Linked DNA regions of Homo sapiens: all the other regions are linked to region 2. Evidence: promoter capture Hi-C in 16 types of primary human blood cells and fetal thymus (Javierre and others, 2016). All regions are on one chromosome and are shown on one strand. Each heading gives the region's core, a stretch centred on a gene start or on the middle of the fragment in contact. The rest is flanking DNA. Distances are from core to core; before and after follow the strand shown. Region 1 overlaps NUP210L (nucleoporin 210 like). Region 2 holds the start of SLC27A3 (solute carrier family 27 member 3). Region 3 holds the start of S100A16 (S100 calcium binding protein A16). Region 4 overlaps CHTOP (chromatin target of PRMT1).

Evidence for each region. The method cuts DNA at HindIII sites, captures the fragments that hold promoters and counts their contacts. A CHiCAGO score of 5 or more calls a contact.
Region 1: a fragment that was not itself captured here is called in contact with the fragment with the promoter of SLC27A3 in region 2 in 11 of 17 cell types (total CD4 T cells, activated CD4 T cells, naive B cells and 8 more); the score reaches 10.1 in total CD4 T cells.
Region 3: a contact is called between the fragment with the promoter of S100A16 here and the fragment with the promoter of SLC27A3 in region 2, in 2 of 17 cell types (M2 macrophages and M0 macrophages). The highest score is 6.1, in M2 macrophages.
Region 4: a fragment that was not itself captured here is called in contact with the fragment with the promoter of SLC27A3 in region 2 in 4 of 17 cell types (M0 macrophages, endothelial precursors, M1 macrophages and 1 more); the score reaches 7.4 in M0 macrophages.

Annotation. Positions count from the first base shown.
Region 1 is chr1:154,000,782-154,003,578 of GRCh38, reverse strand. NUP210L (nucleoporin 210 like) reads left to right here. Exons shown (of 40, transcript NM_207308.3): 36 at 1,594-1,844; 37 at 2,519-2,723. Among named protein-coding and RNA genes, the nearest start is that of RPS27, 11 kb to the right of the region's middle. The HindIII fragment of the contact is 1,365 bases long and covers 680-2,044 here.
Region 2 is chr1:153,774,142-153,776,841 of GRCh38, reverse strand. It overlaps SLC27A3 (solute carrier family 27 member 3), which reads right to left and starts at 1,435. Exons shown (of 10, transcript NM_024330.4): 1 at 678-1,435; 2 at 115-324. The coding sequence starts at 1,344. It overlaps INTS3 (integrator complex subunit 3), which reads right to left. Exons shown (of 30, transcript NM_023015.5): 30 at 2,034-2,700. RefSeq lists a silencer at 808-999 and an enhancer at 368-1,034. The HindIII fragment of the contact is 7,576 bases long and covers 1-2,700 here.
Region 3 is chr1:153,611,696-153,614,433 of GRCh38, reverse strand. It overlaps S100A16 (S100 calcium binding protein A16), which reads left to right and starts at 1,297. Exons shown (of 3, transcript NM_080388.3): 1 at 1,297-1,482. S100A14 (S100 calcium binding protein A14) reads left to right here. Exons shown (of 4, transcript NM_020672.3): 4 at 1-179. The HindIII fragment of the contact is 6,157 bases long and covers 1-1,774 here.
Region 4 is chr1:153,637,462-153,640,291 of GRCh38, reverse strand. CHTOP (chromatin target of PRMT1) reads right to left here. Exons shown (of 6, transcript NM_015607.4): 3 at 1,844-1,997. Among named protein-coding and RNA genes, the nearest start is that of CHTOP, 4.8 kb to the right of the region's middle. The HindIII fragment of the contact is 1,416 bases long and covers 584-1,999 here.

The sequences.
Region 1 (2,797 bases), core at 113-2,612, 230 kb before region 2:
GTGAGTTGTGATTGTGCCACTGCAGTCCGGCCTGGGCAAGAGCAAGACTCTGTCTCTACAAAAATAATAAATAGTCCAGGCATGGTGGCTCACGCCTGTAATCCCAGCACTTTGGGAGGCTGAGGTGGGAGGATCACGAGGTCAGGAGATCGAGACCATCCTGGCTAACAAGGTAAAACCTCGTCTCTACTAAAAATACAAAAATTAGCCGGATGTGGTGGCAGGCGCCTGTAGTCCCAGCTACTTGGGAGGCTGAGGCAGGAGAATGGCGTGAACCTGGGAGGCAGAGCTTGCAGTGAGCTGAGATTGCGCCACTGCACTCTAGCCTGGGCAACAGGGCGAGACTCTGTCTCAAAAATATATATAAAATAATAATAATAGCAATAAATAAAAATTAAAAATTAGCCAGGCATGGTGGCACATGCCTGGAGTCCTAGCTGCCTGGGAGGCTGAGGTGGGAGGATTACTTGAGCCCAGGAGTTTAAGGCTGCAGTGAGGTAGAATTGCACCACTGCACTCCAGCCTGGGCAACAGTGTGAAATTCTGTCTCTTTAAAAAAAAAAAAAAAAGACAGCTAAGGATTAATCATGGGTAACTGGAAAAACAGTTCCTACCATTGATAAAAATAATGACACCAAGAGGTGGTCTGATACATAAGTTATTAATGATGCTCAAAGCTTGTCTGTCTTTCACAAACCCTTTCCTGAGTTCACCAGCACTGACTACTTCATTCTATATCCCCAGCTCTTAATTGCCCTGCTTGTGTTATATCATTTAATATTCCCTGACATGTTGAATAAGAATGGTATTCTTAGCCAGGGAGCAGTTTCTCACGCCTGTAAACCCAGCACTTTGGGAGGCCAAGGCAGGAGGATCGCTTGAGCCCAGGAGTTTGAGACCAGCCTGGGCAACATAATGAAGTCCCTTCTCTATAAAAAATATAATTTTTTTTTTTGAGACGGAGTCTTGCTCTGTCCCCAAGCTGGAATGCAGTGGTGTGATCTCAGCTCACTGCAACGTCCATCTCAAGCAATTTCCCTGCCTCAGTCTCCCAAGTAGCTGGGATTACAGGTACCCACCATCACACCCGGCTAATCCTCGTATTTTTAGTAGAGATGGGGGTTTCACCATGTTGGCCAGGCTGGTCTCGAACTCTTGACCTTGTGATCCACCCACCTCAGCTAAAAAATACAAAAATTAGCCAGGCACAGTGGCTCATGCCTGTAATCCCAGCTACTCGGGAGGCTGAGGTGGGAGGATCGCCAGAGCCTGGGAGGTCGGGCTGCAGAATGCCATGATCACGCCACTGTGCTCTAGCCTGCACGACACAGTGAGACCCTGTCTCCAAAAAAAAGAAAGAATGGTATTCTCAGAAAACAAGTTTAGTTGTGGTTTCTCTAGGAGTATTTTTCTTTTTATTTGGCATCCTCCTCGTAGTGGCCAATATTGTGCTGATATTGAATACTCAAAACTAAATTCACATTTTCTCTTTTGCTGAATTTGCATGTCACAATTTTCCCTTCCTATCCTAATTCAGTTGGCTCAATAGAGCCTCTGAACCTTCCTGCTCAGTTTTTCCTCTTTTTTTTCCAGGGGTTTATGTCTGCATAATCAAGGTTCGACCGCAGTCAGAGGAGCTGCTACAGGCCCTCAGTGTGGCTGACACCTCAGTCTATGGGTGGGCTACACTGGTCAGTGAACGTAGCAAGAATGGAATGCAACGAATCCTCATTCCTTTCATCCCAGCCTTTTATATTAACCAGTCAGAATTGGTTCTTAGCCACAAACAAGATATCGGGGAGATAAGAGTACTGGGAGTGGACAGAGTTCTTAGGAAGCTAGAGGTATGTTAAGAACTGAACCAAAACAGAACAAGAGATCAGGAATTTGAAAAGATAGTTTTCATTCTCACTTCAAGGGCAAAAGAAGTTACTGAGTGACCTAATAAAAATTACCATAGGAAATGACAAAATCAAATGAAGAAAACCCATCTCCTTCATAATGCCAGGCAGGCTCCCAGAGTCCAAAATCTAGGTCATAAGCTTTGTCAACATACCTAAAGGAGTAAAAAAAGTAAATGATTGGCCGAGCGCGGTGGCTCATGCCTGTAATCCCAGCACTTTGGGAGGCCAAAGTGGGTGGATCACAAGGTCAACAGATCAAGACCATCCTGGCCAACATGGTGAAACCTCTTCTCTACTAAAAGTACAAAAATTAGCTGGACGTGGTGGCGGACACCTGTAGTCCCAGCTACTCGGGAGGCTGAGGCAGGAAAATTGCTTGAACCCGGGAGGCAGAGGTTGCAGGGAGCTGAGATCGCGCCACTGCACTCCAGCCTGGGTGACAGAGCGAGACTCCCTCTCAACAACAACAAAAAAGTAAATGATTTGATTGTCGGCTAGCTAGCTAGAAATCCAGATCTTGACAATTATTGTACTGTATATGTTTCAGATTGGAACATACTGATACAAAGTTGATTTTTCTTCTTTTAAATAAAAGGTTTTATCTTTTCTCCAAGGTCATCTCCAGCTCCCCAGTTCTAGTGGTCGCTGGCCATAGCCACTCTCCCCTCACTCCTGGCCTGGCCATTTACTCTGTAAGAGTGGTCAACTTCACTTCCTTCCAGCAAATGGCATCACCTGTTTTCATCAATATTTCCTGTGTACTCACCAGTCAAAGTGAGGCAGTGGTAGTGAGGGCTATGAAAGATAAGTTGGGTGCAGGTAAGCATCAGAGATTCCTATTTATAATCTAGAGAGGAAAAGAAGAAAGAATGTATTACATTAGTACCCCCCAT
Region 2 (2,700 bases), core at 186-2,685:
TGTGCCAATGAAATCAGCATCCTCTCTGGGGGCTTTGAAGGAGTGGTCTGGGAGCAGACCCCTGCCTTCCTCTGCCTTGGTTTCGGGGAGCTAAGTATGGTGCCCGGCCCTCACCCGTGGTGCCAGAGGTGAAGATGTACAGGCACGTGTCTGTTATGCTCTGGGGGGAAGAGAGGTATCCTGGCACTGGCCCATCCACTTCAGCGGACACTTCAGCCAGCAAATCGCTAATTCCAGCAGGGTGGGTTCCTGGGCCTGCAGCCCACAGGTGGAGCCCCATGGCTCTCAGGGCGGGCAGGTCCGGCTCCAGGGACTCCAGAAACTCTAGAAGGGTGGGAAAGCACAACGCCGGGGCCCTGGCTCTACCTAGAAGAGCCTATGACCCATGTCCCCTCCCTATCCCAGCCCACACTGCTCTTGGATGAGGGTGAAGGGTATGGACATTCCATCTTGGGTCTGAGGCCTGGAACTCGACTCCTTGGGGATCCTTGGGGCACCAAAGATTCAGCCTCATCCCTTCTCAAACCCGGAGACTCCTATCTCCACCCACTTTCGAACCCCAAGGGATAGTCGGCTTCTTCCCAGGCCCAGGGATGAGACCAAGCCTTTCTGTGGTCTCCGACACGCCCCCTTCTGTGGCTGGCCCCGCCTTAGTCAGTTCGGAGCTCCAGCCTTACCTGGCGCCAGCACCAGCGCGCGCGCGCCGCAGCTGCGGAGGCAGTGCAGCAGGGGGCCCCGGCGCAGGGCGGTGGGCACAAAGGCAGTGCGCAGGCCGGCCTTGGCCAGCCCGAACCAGAGCCACAGAAACTCTGGGCCAGCGGGGAGGAGCAGCGCCACAGTTGCTCCAGGTGACAGAGGGGCGGCGGCTCCTCCACCTCTGGCGGCACCGTCCCCTCCGGCAAACTCCGCGCCGCTTCCGGCCGCTGCATCTCCGGCTCCCGGCGCTGCCCGCTCGCCTTCTCCAGCGCTCCCCTCGCCGCTGTCGCCGCCGTCGGGTCCCCAGTCCCAGCCTAGCGCACGTAGGAAGGCGCGTGCAGCCCTGTTACTCTCGCGCTCCGCCTCTGAGTAGCTAAAGCGCCGCGAGCCGTGAATGAGAAAGGTGTGCGCGGCGCGCTGCTGGGCCAGTTCCGCGAGGCGCCAGGCCAGGCTGCAGCCCCCCTCGGGACCTTCCGGGTCGGCGGCAGCCGCGGCCAGGGCGCGAGCTCGAAGAGCCCTTTTGCAGCACAGAGCTCGCACCGCAAAGGCCAAGTCCGCCGGAAGCCAGCGCAACTGCGGCCAGAGGTGTAGCTTCAGCAGCAGCAGCGGTAGCAACAGCAGCAGGGGCAGCAGCAGGAGGGCAGCCATGGAGCCCGCTTCCTCTATCGGCACCGTCTGGTTCCAGCCGCTCGCAAACATCCCTGATCCTCCCTTCCGAAAACCTAGGGCCGCTCGTTCTAGCTGAGACTTCTCCTTCCAGGGAGCGCGCGTGCGCTGGCACACGCCCATTCCCACCCAGGCCCCCACCACTCCACACGGGCGGAGAGCAGAAACCCGGGAGGAGTGCGGGTGTGGGGCGGCCCCGGACTCCCAGCCCTCCCCCCACAGCCTACGCTCCGCCCTAGGCGCGCTCCCTCCCGGACTGCTCGCGGCTCGCACCCTACCAGGTCCTGGGCGGTGCTCGCGCCTTCCCTGAATCCCAGGGTTATGTCTGTCTTCTAAGTTGTTTCTCGGCTTGGGCGGTTTAGGCATCTGGCTAAGCCCTAGAGTCCAGGCCTGAGAGCCAGGGCGTTTGGATCGCAGTCCATCTTCCCCTCAATATTTCTCGTTTTCCCGTTAAGGGAAGGTACCATTGCTCTCTCCCAAAAGAATGAACTTGGCCCCTGGCCCATTTGGTTCTGCAAGTCCCGGCCTGCCAGCCGCAACCCCAGGGGATGGGTGGGGGCTGAGAGTTAAATAGGGGAAAGGTGGAAACCCAGACTGCCAGATTTCTGAGGGGTCACGACAGAGGCCCCTCCCTTTGGGCAAGGGTACAATAATTGGGGCCAGCCAGCAAATGCTCTCCATCCTGGTTTTAATTGGGACAGAGGAAACTGGGGAAGGAGAGAGGAAGGAAAAAGAAGCCTCCAGTGGTTTAGACTTTCAAAGGAAGCAACAGCAGTGATGAGGGAGGGGAGAACCTGGATTCTGTAAAAAGACAAATTTTCGGGGTGAAGAGGAGCAGCTCTGTGCAGTTCGCCCAAACTTCACTCCTCAGTCCACCTCCATTCTCCCTGGACAGCGGGGGAACAACAGCATAGCCAAGGAACTCTCCTCTGCTGGTTCACATGGCCCAGCAAGTGGCCACACTGTGGAAGGAAGAGCATCTCTGTCCCTCCCTGGTATCCAGACTTTATCTCCAGGTACAGTTGTCCCTGGAGACCAAGCTGGAGCATCCCTCCCGTCAAGCAGCGAGTCCTCCGGCCATTCTTGGTAGGCACACAGACTTCAACTGGAGGATGACAGACCTTTTGGAAGCATCTTGTTTCTTGAGAAATGAGTAAGGACAGGCCTCATCCTACGGGGGATGGTTCTGCATAGACAGATCAGTGCCTGGCTCCCACCTCCAGTGGCAGCAGGAAGGATGGGTAGTGGCCAAAGCCAAGTCCCTTCTGCTCTAGACAAAAGTGGGGGCAGAACAGGAAGGGAAAGGGGGATGTTCTGCGGTTACAAGTAGGGGTGCCA
Region 3 (2,738 bases), core at 48-2,547, 160 kb after region 2:
CCAGGCTCCTCCTAGACTCTGTCCCTGGGCTAGGGCAGGGGAGGAGGGAGAGCAGGGTTGGGGGAGAGGCTGAGGAGAGTGTGACATGTGGGGAGAGGACCAGCTGGGTGCTTGGGCATTGACAGAATGATGGTTGTTTTGTATCATTTGATTAATAAAAAAAAATGAAAAAAGTGAAACATGTTGTCTTGACTGGACACCCCCTCCCTGAGGGTCCACGGGTGAGAGGAGCTTGGGGGTGAAAGGCAAAGTCATTGGTAGGGTGGGGCACGTGGGGCTGGAGTGGTTGGCTGTGGAAGTGAATGGGGACTCACTTTTCCCTATGGGTTTGGGTTGAGGGTGGTACCAGGTCCAAAAGGGCAACATGGTCCTCTCTGAGGGACAGGCTCCTCTTTGCCAATGGGCGGGCCCTCTTATAGGAGAGGAGGGTATGTGTGCACACTTGGGGAAAAGGATATTAGTCCAGGTGTTCTGAGCCCTGGCTGGCACAACCAGGGAAATGGGGTGGGTGGGGGTGGGGGGCGGTTAGAAACAGGCTGACTGGCCTGAGTTTGAATCTCAGATCTGCCACTTATCATTGGAATTTTGGGCATGCTCTTAGTATCAGTTTCCTCATCTGTAAAATGGGGGATATGAATATTACTTCCACAGGATTGCCAGGAGGACAATGCCACACATCATGTAAAGCACTTACAGAGAGCCTGACACATGGTGAGTGCCCAGTGACCCAATATCATTCCCGCTGGAGTGGGCAAGTGGGCCCCTCTTTGGTTTCAGCTGCTGCCCTAGTGTAGGGAGGTCGAGCTGGCCAGTTTCCTTGGGTATCTTAGGGAAACGGTGGGGTGTGGGGAGTTTCCAGAGGAGTCTTCTGGTGTACATGAGGGATCTTAGGGCTGGGTCTCAGTAGAGCTGATGGGTCAGACTAGAGACAGAAGACCAGGGAGCCAGACAGGTCCCTGGCATCTGCCTTCTGATTTGAGCACAGAAGTCGGGCGTTACTCCTGAAACCCCAGTGGCAAGGAGGTTTCTGTGGCCAGTTAGGCTGGCCTGGAATGTTAACTGAACTTGTCTGTTGGGAGCCCCTGAAACTGGGATCCCAGTGACCCAGGTGAGAAAGGCAGGTGATAGTCCTTCCCTTCCTTTCTCTACCCTGTCAGGTTCTGCTCAGCCCCTGCGGGGCTGGGAGGGTGGGGTTGGGGGAGTGCCAGTTTTCACCACTCCCTCTGGGATGGGGGTAGAGGGGTGTGAAAAAAGGTGTGTATCCCTTTAACAAGGGCCCAACCCCAGGGCCAAGTCAAGAAGGAGCTCAGCCACTATCTCCCCACCGAGCCAGCTCAGCGGGCAGGGCTGGGAGGGAGTGGGACAGATTCTGGGAGTGCAGCGGGGAGGAGTCCCGGCTGGGCTGAGCGCAGGGAGCTGCTTGGCAGTGCCAGAGCCCAGGCCCCAGAGCCCTGCTGGAGAGGAGGCAGACTGAGGCAGCAGGTGAGCACCCTGGGCCCGGCCTGGGAGGTCTTCGGCTGCCGGAGGGCCCCACAGTATTGGGAGGCCAGGAGAAGGGGCAGTGAAGGGGGCCTGGGGAGAGGGGCCTGCCAGAGAGCAGGCAGGAAGATTTTGGTAATTATTAACTTTCTCCCACAGGCCAGTTTAGGAATGGGGAGTCCTGGGGGGTTGGGGGCTGGGTGAGGCCTTTAGAGGGATGGATGGGATGGTGAGACCCCCTCCCTGCCGCAGCAGCTGACGGAGCTCCTCTCCAGGGGCAGAGTATTTGGAAGCTTTGACCACAGCTACTCGATCCTCCCCAAAAGGAGAGGACAAATGCGTGTTGGTCTGGGTTGGGGGTGGTCAGAGCTTGGACACAGGCCTTGCTGGGCTCTGGGAGCTGTGTCCTAGGGGAGGTGATGGGGTCCAGAAGGAACCAGGCAGTTTCCAGGGAGCCTGAGATTCCGAGAAGAGGAGGCGGGGGCTGAGGTGGCGTCCCCTCTACCTCACGACCCAAGCAGACCCCACTGTGTTCCAGGAGCTGTTCCTTGAGAGGGATGATGAGATCTGGGAGGAACCCGAGTGAGGCTGTGGGGAGCCTGCAAGCTCCCTGGGAGAGGGAAAGATAGAGAGAGGGGGGCTGAACCTCGGCAGCTCCTCCACCTCAGGACCCAGGCAGGCCCCGGCTTGAGCTGCTTTTCTTGGCAGAGCCACCTGCACTATGGGAGCCTTCCCCTGCCCAGCCCAGTGGGGATGGTGGTGAGGGCAGGGGTGCTGGGGAGCTGGCTCTGCCTTTCCCCACATTCTAGTAAGTGTTGTTGAGGCTGGGGTAGCTGTGTGTGTGTTGGGGGAGGCGGGGGCAAGATCCACACTGAACTCCTCCAACTTCACTTGCCTGGAAAAATTTCAGAGGCTGGCTTCTTGCTCCAAGAACTGAAGTGAGTGGAAGGGTGATGGGTCACCCAAGCAGAGGGGATCAGGAATGGCCGAGGTCCTTGCTCGGTGTGTGTGTGTGTGTGTGTGTGTGTGTGTGTGTGAGAGAGAGACAAAGAGAGTTAGACGCAGAATCCTGTGAGGATGGTAAGGGGTGAGGCAGGGCCAAGCAGGCCCCACTATGCTCCGGGAGCTGTTCCTGGAGAGGGCCTTGTGGAATTGGAGAAAGAACACAGGAAGGAGCAGAGAATGGAACAGCTGAGGCTGGAGAAATTTCATTTGAAACAGCCTTGCTGATAGAGGTGGCATTGTCAGCCCAGTTCGGA
Region 4 (2,830 bases), core at 42-2,541, 140 kb after region 2:
CATTGGCCAGGCTAGTCTCAAACTCCTGACCTCAAGTGATCCGCCTGCCTTGGCCTCCCAGAGTGCTGGGATTACAGGCCTGGCCTAAAATTAAATTAAAAAAAATTAAGCTCCTTAATTGCACTAGTCACATTTAAAGTTTTCAATAGCCACATGTGACTAGTGGCTACTGTACCGGAGAGCAAATACAGAACATTTCCATCATTGTAGAAAGTTCTGGCTGGGCACGGTAGCTCATGCCTGTAATCTGAACACTTTGGGATACTGAGGCAGGCAGATCACTTGAGGTCAGGAGTTCAAGACCAGTCTGGCCAACATGACAAAACTCCGTCTCTACTAAAAATACAAAAATTAGCCGGGTGTGGTGGCGGGCGCCTGTAGCTGAGACAGGAGAATCGCTTGAACCCGGGAGGCGGAGGCTGCAGTGAGTTGAGATTGCACCACTGCACTACAGCCTGGGTGACAGAGCAAGACTCCGTCTCAAAACAAACCAAACCAAACCAAACCAAAAACATAAAAAAATTCTATTTAATAGTACTACTCTGGATAGGGACTACTTCCTGCAGAGCCTATACTTAAAGCTTCTTGTTGAAAGGTCCTTTGGAATGATCTGTCAGAGATTCATCTTCAGCAACTTCCATTTACTCTTGGAAAATGGTGCCTTTTGCTGCTTTCCTGAGTCAGGGAGGAATCCAGTCACTCCAAGGCTTAAGGTAGCCGAAGCAGACACCCTTGTTTATTTTTGGTCAGTGAGCCCAATGGTTCAGGGTGGGGGTGTAAGGGTGTTATATTTAACTGCTGAATTTATGCATAGCCATGCAATGCTACCAAAGCCCTTACAGTTGCATGGCACTGCCCTCCAGACGCCCAGCCACAGCTTGGACATATCCTTCCACAGCCACTGTCCGGACTTGCATATAAATTCTATGAATAATAAAGAGCAGGTTTTATTTCAGGTCTGAATAGGATTATCTCTCACTGTAAATTTGAAAAAGAGAACCCCTAACTCAAATTACTCAGTATTCTTGCTCCACTTTACTGGTAAAACTTTAGGTGCTGTGGAAATGAGGGTCACTCTACTCTGTATATTTTAGCATTGAAAACCTTTGACTGCTGGGCGCGGTGGCTCAAGCCTGTAATCCCAGCACTTTGGGAGGCCGAGGCGGGTGGATCACGAGGTCAGGAGATCGAGACCATCCTGGCTAGTATGGTGAAACCCTGTCTCTATTAAATATACAAAAAAATTAGCTGGGTGTGGTGGCGGGCACCTTTAGTCCCAGCTGTTCGGGAGGCTGAGGCAGGAGAATGGTATGGACCCGGGAGGCGGAGCTTGCAGTGAGCCGAGATCGTGCCACTGCACTCCAGCCTGGGCGACAGAGCAAGACTCCGTCTAAAAAAAAAAAAAAAAAGAAAACCTTTGACTAAGGCCATGCAAACTCCCTGCACTATGGGAAAAAGAATAAAATTATTTCCCTGTTGGGTAAATCATTTAACAGAGAGTAAAGGATGCTGTGAGATTATCTAAAGCTGAAATAAAGTTTCTTTGTGGAATAAGCCATTAATCTATGTTAAGGGTTAAGGATCAGAAAACAAAAGATTAATACTCATTGGTAACAGAAACAGGCCACATAGATGGCAAACTCCCTAAAAGAGAAAGACAGTAAAAAGTTACTTATTGGTACCTGCCAAAATTGGAATTCTCTGAACTTCTCTTTCTTCCAGAGAAGTTTCAGCTTTTTGCCCTGAGCCACTTTGCAATCATCCATCACGTCCTGACAGCCTCAGTGGACTCCCTCACAGAGATCACCAGCTGCTTCTGGAGCATTAAGACCCATTCTCTCACCTGCTTAAGTTTTAATGCTGCCTGGACAGAGGGTCTATTCTCCATCTGCTGGGCCAGTCTTCTGTTTCTGGCACTGGCTAGCTGCTGTTGTTGCTGCATCGAAGCCCGAATATTCACTGGCGTCGGCTGTTTGTTCTTCAGCATATTAGTAAAGCTTCAAGGTCGAACAAAATGGATGTTTAAATAAAAGCTTTATTACAAACATTTATTGGCATTTTCATGGCTTGCTAGACCAGGAGCTCCAGATCCCACGAACTTTTAAGTAAAGTGGTACACTTAGATCAAGGCTGATGTGGGTTAAAGACTCCTCTGTTTCCACAAACTTGCAAGAATCAGAAACTTAGAAATGCAGCTAAGTGCAGCACATTCAACCAAAAGTGATAACGAGGGCTCAGGTAACGGCTTTTAGAGAGGTGGAAGGTATGAAAAACACGCAATAAGCAGATATGACAAGAGACAGAAGATATAGTTTCAAAGACAAATGAAGAAAGCCTAAACCTTGGGGGATCCGAGGTGCATTCTAAGGCCAAATATGAGGAAGGATTAGAGCACCTTCAAAGCTCACAGCAATGAACATACTCTCATAAATTACAGGAGTGTATCACATTTTAAAATATATGTCACTAACATGCAAACATAAATATTATGCAAACATAAATAATTAGCTTATCATAGCCAAAGAGATAAGGAGAGAAGCACATATGCCTCAGAAGAGGCAAAAATAGACATTAAGTAAATTTCAGTGGTCGAAAGTCAACTTAATGAAATCACTGATCAAAGGCATTCTTTTTTTTGAAACGGAGCCTCACTCTGTCCTCTGTTGCCCTGGCTGGAGTGCAGTGGCAGGATCTTGGCTCACTGCAACCTTCGCCTCACGGGTTCAAGTGATTCTCCTACCTCAGCCTCCTGAGTAGCTGGGATTATAGGCACACGCCACCACGCCCAGCTAATTTTTCTATTTTTAGTAGAGACAGGGTTTCACCATGT